Linked DNA regions of Homo sapiens: all the other regions are linked to region 1. Evidence: promoter capture Hi-C in human tissues and cell types (Jung and others, 2019). All regions are on one chromosome and are shown on one strand. Each heading gives the region's core, a stretch centred on a gene start or on the middle of the fragment in contact. The rest is flanking DNA. Distances are from core to core; before and after follow the strand shown.

What was found. Contacts are between HindIII fragments. The study calls those that stand out against the background at their distance.
Region 2: a fragment that was not itself captured here is called in contact with the fragment with the promoter of CER1 in region 1 in 2 of the 25 tissues and cell types used here (mesendoderm cells and thymus).
Region 3: a fragment that was not itself captured here is called in contact with the fragment with the promoter of CER1 in region 1 in 7 of the 25 tissues and cell types used here (H1 embryonic stem cells, bladder, heart left ventricle and 4 more).

Annotation. Positions count from the first base shown.
Region 1 is chr9:14,721,381-14,724,129 of GRCh38, reverse strand. CER1 (cerberus 1, DAN family BMP antagonist) reads left to right here and starts at 1,397. Exons shown (of 2, transcript NM_005454.3): 1 at 1,397-1,964. The coding sequence starts at 1,458. RefSeq lists enhancers at 372-1,309, 1,310-2,249. The HindIII fragment of the contact is 6,126 bases long and covers 1-2,538 here.
Region 2 is chr9:14,776,792-14,779,540 of GRCh38, reverse strand. The region is part of intron 24 of FREM1 (FRAS1 related extracellular matrix 1); the gene reads left to right. Among named protein-coding and RNA genes, the nearest start is that of CER1, 55 kb to the right of the region's middle. The HindIII fragment of the contact is 3,379 bases long and covers 1-2,749 here.
Region 3 is chr9:14,755,817-14,758,565 of GRCh38, reverse strand. It overlaps FREM1 (FRAS1 related extracellular matrix 1), which reads left to right. Exons shown (of 37, transcript NM_001379081.2): 29 at 2,120-2,192. Among named protein-coding and RNA genes, the nearest start is that of CER1, 34 kb to the right of the region's middle. The HindIII fragment of the contact is 4,137 bases long and covers 1-2,749 here.

The DNA of each region.
Region 1 (2,749 bases), core at 148-2,647:
GGGTAAAGGGACTTACTTAAGGCTTTATTTCATAGAAATCAGGCATGGCTATCAAGAAGAACAGAAATGCCTGGAAAACAGACTCCAGTGGGTCACTTCTTGGAAAGAAAGTTTAATCAGTATTGACAAAAAAGGGGGAACATGTTCCAGGACTATTTGTGTTATTGAAAGCAAGGAATATAGTGATTGAATTAAAAGGGGAGAAATAAAAGCAGATATTGCATTGCTTCCCAGTGGAAATACTGTTTGAATCATGTGGTAGGCTGATCGGACTCTATTCTGGGGTTTCAGTTTTCTGGACGTGTTTCTTTTTCGTATCCTAGGCTGATTCATGATAGTTTTGAATGATAGTTATTTTTCAATTTTTCCTTTGATCCCCGAAGACTCTTATTTGTGTCAATCTTTATTTAGCCTGGCCATCAATTAGTGTAAAACAAGGGGAGATGATGTGGATTCAATAAGGTAAGAAACTGACTAGCCAGCGTCACACACAAAGTTATCAAACCTGGTTCTTAGAATCCACGTTCTCATGTCTGGCTCTTTGTTCAAAGGGAAAAAAAAATCAATAGGATGGCTGGAGGGAGACATTTCCCTATCCTCATTGAAGACTGATGAGCTGTCAGTCTATTACGTGGTATCCTGTTGAGGAACATGTGAACAATTGGAAGAGTTTATCTGATGACTGACCAGTTGTGAAATTTAGCACCCATTAATTGATTCTTAATGTGAGAGGATTAACTTGGGAATTGTGAGTTTCTACGTGTGGAAAGGAAAACATATTCCCTTTACTCAGTTACTGTGCAAAAATCAATAACCCCAATTTGCATGTAAGTAAGAAACAATATGTCCCTTGCTCAAAAAAATTAACATCCTTCTAGCTCTTCCTTTCTTCTCCTTACAACTTTGATATACTTCTTCGTGTGTGTGTGTGTGTGTGTGTGTGTGTGTGTGTGTGTGTGTGTGTGAATAGCCTTCCTAAAGGCCTGGGCTTTTTCTAAATGTATGCCTTTAATTTTTATCCAAAAACTTCTCTTACAGCAACATGTCTTGTCTATTCTATTCCAGCACAAGGCAGATGCACAGCAAATGTGAGCTGACTCTAGTCCTTCTTCTGAAAACAGCCATGGGAAATTTAGGCAAAGAATGTGTTGTCTTTGCTAATACTGCTCTTTAAGCCCCAGACATAGCTAAACTCTTAGCTAATTACCCCCTGGGTCCCAGGCTTTCACTGGGGCCTTTTAAAATACACAAAACCAAAGTGACGGCAGGAGGCCATTAGCACTACATAATTCAAGCAAACAATAAATGTGTTTATTCTGCCTGGCTACTGACCACCTGCCTTCCCATCCCGCCAGGCAGGTATCTATATATACGATTTCCTTTTTCCCAGTCCTGCAGAGAATGAGCCTCTCCTTTGGGCCTCATCATTTACAAAAGAAGCTTGGGCCCCTGACAGCATGCATCTCCTCTTATTTCAGCTGCTGGTACTCCTGCCTCTAGGAAAGACCACACGGCACCAGGATGGCCGCCAGAATCAGAGTTCTCTTTCCCCCGTACTCCTGCCAAGGAATCAAAGAGAGCTTCCCACAGGCAACCATGAGGAAGCTGAGGAGAAGCCAGATCTGTTTGTCGCAGTGCCACACCTTGTAGCCACCAGCCCTGCAGGGGAAGGCCAGAGGCAGAGAGAGAAGATGCTGTCCAGATTTGGCAGGTTCTGGAAGAAGCCTGAGAGAGAAATGCATCCATCCAGGGACTCAGATAGTGAGCCCTTCCCACCTGGGACCCAGTCCCTCATCCAGCCGATAGATGGAATGAAAATGGAGAAATCTCCTCTTCGGGAAGAAGCCAAGAAATTCTGGCACCACTTCATGTTCAGAAAAACTCCGGCTTCTCAGGGGGTCATCTTGCCCATCAAAAGCCATGAAGTACATTGGGAGACCTGCAGGACAGTGCCCTTCAGCCAGGTATGTGTTCTGGGGGGAGAGCAGGTAAGAGTTTGCAGGTGGTAGTGGACAGCTGGGATGGATGGAGAGTAGGGGAAAAGGCTGTCAGGAGCCTGACTCTAGCTTAACTACAGATTTGGTCCTTGGGCATTCATCATAGGATTTGGCAAAGATTAAGTTTCCTTCTGGCCTTTCCATTTTTTCTTGGCATTGTGGAAATGCTGCAAGAATGATATGATGATACTGTCAATATCAGTAATCATTCATTCACACTGAAGACACAGAGCTCTGTTTTATTTATTTATTTTTGCATTGGAGGTGATCTACTCAGAGATATAAGTCAGACTGTACCCTCAGTTAGGAAACTGAGAATTTAGAGTAATCACCAGAACTCCTCTGTAGCTATCTTTCTGCACTCTATTAATATGTGGATGAGCAGGTCAACTCCATTTGTTGATAAAGTGGGGTGCATTGGACTCCTTCCCAAATACTCTCATATCCATTTACGATGGTCTTAATCCCCATAGTCCATACTTAATTACTTTATAGGTTTATGAGGGACTTCTTTAATAGCTTGCTAAAGCTATCCCACAACCTCAAAGTACGTTGAGGTTCTCAGGCAAAAGTTGTCATATCATTTCTAGTATTATGATAGCAAAAAAGTGATTTTCTTTCACTTATTTTCTCATATGAGCTTTTTAAAAAATCAATCTTGATGTGAGATCATATCTCCTCCCCTTAGAAGTACCTTTCTCCTGATTCATGTTGTGTTGGCTGATTTGTAGTTATTATGATCAATTCCATGC
Region 2 (2,749 bases), core at 86-2,585, 55 kb before region 1:
GCAATTCAGTCTGCAGGGAGGAAAGTCAGAATTAGATATTCAAGATGGCCGCCTCTGATGGAGTCCCTGGCACTCACTCAAGCTTGCATTTGGGTTTGTTGCTCCTGGTCCCATCTCTCCCCTTCTTTCTTCTTCCTTCTCTGCTGATATTTGACATACTTTTAATAGTGCACAATGTCTATAGCTCTACAATTAATGCTAATGCTAAAAATACACGTCCTTTGGCTTATATTTGCGCTAAGGTACCAATGGCTGATTTAACACTCTCCACAGAGCACACTTGATACAGGGATCTGGTAAGGAACAGAGAGCCAGTTTAATGTGAAACAGGGTAGAATGAGAGGTGTGAAACATATTTCTGGAGGGGGAAAATGGGAAAAAGGGAACTTGGAGGCACTGAGGGAGCACCTAGCCTCCTTCCTATTTTATTGTGGGTCAGATGATAGGATCTGGGGGGAATATGAAAAAGTAACAGAAAAACAATAGAATAAAGGCATAACTCTGTTCTCAGGCTCTGCCTGAGAAATAAAGCATAATTTTATACCTAAAAATGTATATCAGTTTACTTTTGAAACTGTGAAGGTGACTAAGTAAAAAGTTTGAAGAACAGACATATTTTTCTAGGTTCCTTTATTTTCTTTTTTAAAATTATTTTTCTTTTTTTAAGATGGGCTTTTGCCATGTTGCCCAGGCTGGTCTCAAACTCCTGAGCTCGAGCGCTCCACCCACCCCAGCCTCCCAGAGTGTCCAAGCTATAGGCGTGAGCTACCGCGCCTGACTTCCTTTCCTTTCCTTCCCTTCCCTTCCCTTCCCTTCCCTTCCCTTCCCTTCCCTTCCCTTCCCTTCCCTTCCCTTCCCTCCCTCCCCTCCCTCCCCTCCCTCCCCTCCCTTCCCTCCCTTTCCTTTCCTCTTTTTTTTTTTTTTTTTTTTTTTGAGACAGGTTCTCTGTCTGTTGCCCAGGCTGGAGTGCGGTGGCACGTTCATGGCTCACTGTAGCCTCAACCTCCCAGGATCAAGTGATCCTTCCACCTCAGCCTCCCTAGTAGCTGGGGCTACAGGCACGCACCACACCCAGCTAAATTTTGTATTTTTTGTAGAGAAAGGGTTTTGCCATGTTACCCAGGCTGATATTGAACTCCTGGACTCAAGCCATCTGCCCGCCTTGGCCAGCCAAGGTACTGGGTTTACAGGTGTGAGCCACTGCACCAGCCTCTTTTATTTTTTTTAATAAATAATTGATTTTTATAAATGCCTCATGATCCAGTAATGAAATTGCCCAATTTGTTAAAAATATACTTATCAAAGGTTTAATTTTATGAAAGGAAAACTGATTGGTTTGTTTTGAGAAAATTATGTGATTTTGCTCAATCTATAATTCTAAAGGTAACTGAATACCTTTATTCAAGGTGTAAAAAATGCTGCTGTGGGGGAAATGTATGAGGTTTCATTCTTTACAAGTCGAGGTGTGTGAAATGTCAAAATTTACTTTATTTGTTGTATTTCACTTAGCAATTTTAACTTTTTGGACATAGATTTCTTTTTCTTTGCATCAAATCAGATATATTTTCCTTGTCAACAGTCTTATTAACTAGATAATTAGAAAACTAAAAAACTTCAGCATAGCCTTCAAAGCAATATCAGTACTCAGCCAAACTCATCTCTTTTTACTTTTTGTCTAACTGCCCTCCCTGAGTCCGTGGTCGCAGGCAGGCTGGTTGACTCGTTGCTTTCACACTATCTAATAGCTTCAGGTTTCTTCATGCTCAAAAGGATCAATGCTCAAACCCTGAAGGACAAGACACATTTCACAAAGAATAAAGGGATTGTTAGTCAAATCTGCCAGATTTGTAAAATAAATATAAATGCCATACCTTCTCTAGTTAAAAAAGAACTTCCAAAGAAAATATACAATTTATATATGTATATAAAATTTATACATAAAAATGTTATGTATAGTTTATACATTCTACGAAAGCATTAGTTTTAGAGGTTTTTGTATCGGTGGAATAGAAGAGTGCATCCTCTACGAATATTTCCAGCAACTATGGTACATGGAGAAAAGCTAACAAGGCACAATTCTGTGATTATTTCTAAGTACATTTCTTTGGTGTACAGTGAATTTGTCAGTCCCATTGGATAGTAACGATTTCCTAACTTTTTGGAGTTTTAATATTGTGCCTTGTTTGCATAATTTCATGATACTCTTAATCTTATTGAAATAAAAATTACATATTGTAATGCTACAAAGATCATTTAAATCAGTGTTATTGTGAAATTGGCTTCAGTAGGTAGAATGTGATTTCATGATCAATAGAATCAAAAGCACATTAAGATATCACAAACCTAAGACTGTAAGAAAGATTTTGCTTGTCTCAAATGTGTATCATTTCAGCTTTCTTTTTATAGTTTTGCAATGGTGCTCAGGCACCACAACTCTTTTGTGGTGGATTGCTAAACCAGAATTTGTTTTAAACTCTGCAAGAGTAGTGGGTGCAGGGATTAAAAGACCTGCATTCTAGTCTCAGCTTCATCTCCTACCTGCCCTTATGATCTCCCACCAACTTTGTGAACCTTTCTTTGAAGCAGGAAAATAATCCTTGTGTAGCATAACTCTCATCTGTCTTATAGGGGGAGAAAGTGCAGAAGCACATGTAAACCATAAGAGATTAGAGCCTCCCGTCATATTTTAGAGTTGGGTGGTACTTAATGATCTTCTGGTCCATCCCCTTCATTTTTCAGAGCCATGGAA
Region 3 (2,749 bases), core at 140-2,639, 34 kb before region 1:
ATTTGACCATATCCAGGCTCAGTATTTATCTTTCCAGTGGACACAGGTCCTTTTTCCTAGATCTGTTGGTTACTTTTTTGTTATTAAGACAGGAGAAAACTTGGCATGCCCTATAGTTTTCCAGAAGATTGCTTATGGAATAAGGAAGAATCTGCCTGGATGGTTTTCTAATAATCCTCCCGTCCTCCATAGAAAGCACCATATGCTCTAGGCTGGAGTTTTGGGCCACGCCACCATTCACCTTGCCAGGTAGAAAGAAGAGGCATGGTGTTACATGGAACCTTATGCTTATTTATGCTGAAAGTGCACAACAAACGTGCCAGCTGAGTGTGCAGGCCTTCATCAAGCACAGTCCCAGAGTCTTTCAGGACAACTCTACCCTGAGCACAACCTGCAGCCTTACACTAGAGCTTGGCTGCTTGACTGGGAGCAGGGAAAGAGGTGGTGCTTTTACCCTGTGTGGATTGCCCTGGTTTGAATTGTGCACCTTCACCTGACTGATTTCTCCAACCACCTTGCCTCAGACCATTCCTTTTCCCACATAGGATTCTGTAAACTCAGTGGTAGTAAATACTAGGTAATTGGACATGCAAGAACCATGCAGGGAAATGCAACTTCCAGCATATGGTGGATACAGGTGTATAATGGGCTGCCTTTTCACAATGAAAGGTGGTTCCAGAGGAGCCTTGGCATTGTAGACAAAGAGCAAATGGAAGCTTAGGAAGGTAATCCCCTTTTCCAGCAAAATGTTTCCACTGCTAACCAATTAATATATGAGGGGGCCTTTGATTTGAAATGGACATATTGTCTGAGGCCATAGAAGTAGGAATTTTTCAGCTTTTCATTATGCACTTCATTCTTTTGTCAGAAGGTACAGAAATATATTATCCCACATTCCTGACCATCTTAAACATCTAAAAAATACACACAAGTAACAGAAATGCTTGCACACGGTTCTCATTTGATGACTTATTTTTCAAATCAGCCAAAGACACTTTTTTTTTGTTTTTTGAGATGGAATCTCACTCTATCACCCGGGCTGGAGTGCAATGGCACCATCTCGGCTCACTGCAACCTCCACCTCCCAAGTTCAAGCTCTTCTCCTGCCTCAGCCTCCCCAGGAGGTGGGATTACAGGCGGCCGCCACCATGCCTGGCCAATTTTTTTGTTTTTGGTAGAGACGGGGTTTCACCATGTTGGCCAGGTTGGTCTTGAACTCCTGACCTCAAGTGATCCACCCACCTCTGCCTCCCAGAGTGCTGGGATTACAGGCGTGAGCCACCGTGCCGGCTCAAGGACACTTCTTAACATGTGTTTGGGCACCCTTTGGGTGGAATTCAAGGCCATGACTTCAGAGCGCTAAAATCGCCTCTTTGGTTTTTAGTCTTGGGGCTGGAGCTGAGAAGCAGGGGTGTATCAATAGTCTCCTTAGACTAGGGCATTTTTGTTGTTGTTGTTTTAAAACACCTACCTGACGGGGTCCTTGAAAGTCCTTGGTTTTGGGTGTGGATCTCCTTTGTCTGGTTGTTCACCAGGTCTTCCGGTTCCACAAAACTCTCCTTTCATGTTTGTGAAGAGTAATGGCTTCATCCAGACAGGAAAATGAACCAGATGTGTTTGAGTTAATCTAGTCTAAAGGCTTTCAGTGCCCTGGAGCTTGCAGGATACCTCCAAGCTAGCTGACAGATCATCACATGGGTTGTCAGGGGTACCTGCTTTTTCTTCTCCTCATCAATTTTCTCCCTCCTTTTCTTTTGAGGGACTATTTTAAAACCAAATTGGGATAGAAGGAAGGTAATAAAATTGTGCTTGCAACAAAGACAAAAATATAGTTTAAAATTCATGTTCCTTTCTTCAATAACTAAATCATTTATAAAGGAAAAACCAAACAAAACAAAAGCTTTCCTTTCCATTGATATTAGCCTAGGAAAAAGTCAACTTTAAGGAAAATGCATGTTGCCTGGATCCCAAATGGCTTATATAATTTTTTTAAAAACCCTACCTAATATTAAAAACAGATTTAAGAGCATGAGTTTAGTCCAGTATGAGGGAGAATAGCTGTTTCTCTATTGTAGAATATTTATTTTTATCTTAAAAAGATTTTTTTTTCCCTCCTAAGGTCAACCAAGTGTCAGCTGCAGTTGGAAAAGATTTCACCGTGATTCCATCTAAACTGATTCAGTTTGACCCAGGTACATTTTGTGTCTGCAGTTTGTTTTATGTGTTTTGTTTTTTGTTTTTTTTTGTAGGCATGTCTGGAGATTGTAGAGAAGATAGAATGTTACACAACTTTAGCCAACTAGAAACTCCTCAGGGAGCCATACCACCTCACTCTAAAAGAGAGGTGTTTGGATTTGAGGTTTTGCCCTTATTTTTTTTTAGTAACAAATGAATTTTGATTTCAAATGAGAAGAAAGATTATAATAAATATGAGATATCAAAGCAAACATCCAAGACAATCCAGAAAAAAATACAGTCACTTAGAAATTATTTGAAGTTCTAACACAAAGCTGTTATAGTTTAATTGCCTCAGATATTTTATGAAAATTTTCAGAATGTTATGTTTATATGGATTCCTAAAGGGCATTTCTAAATGATCCCTCATGGAATAGGTTGATATTAGGAGATTCCAGGGGAAATTATTATTTAGTTAAGTAGCACTTACTTTGTTTTAAATTTGTGGAAAAATTTTGCTAGGTGCAAGTGGAAATAAAAAAGGCTGGTACTTGCTCTCAAGTGTGTTCCATTG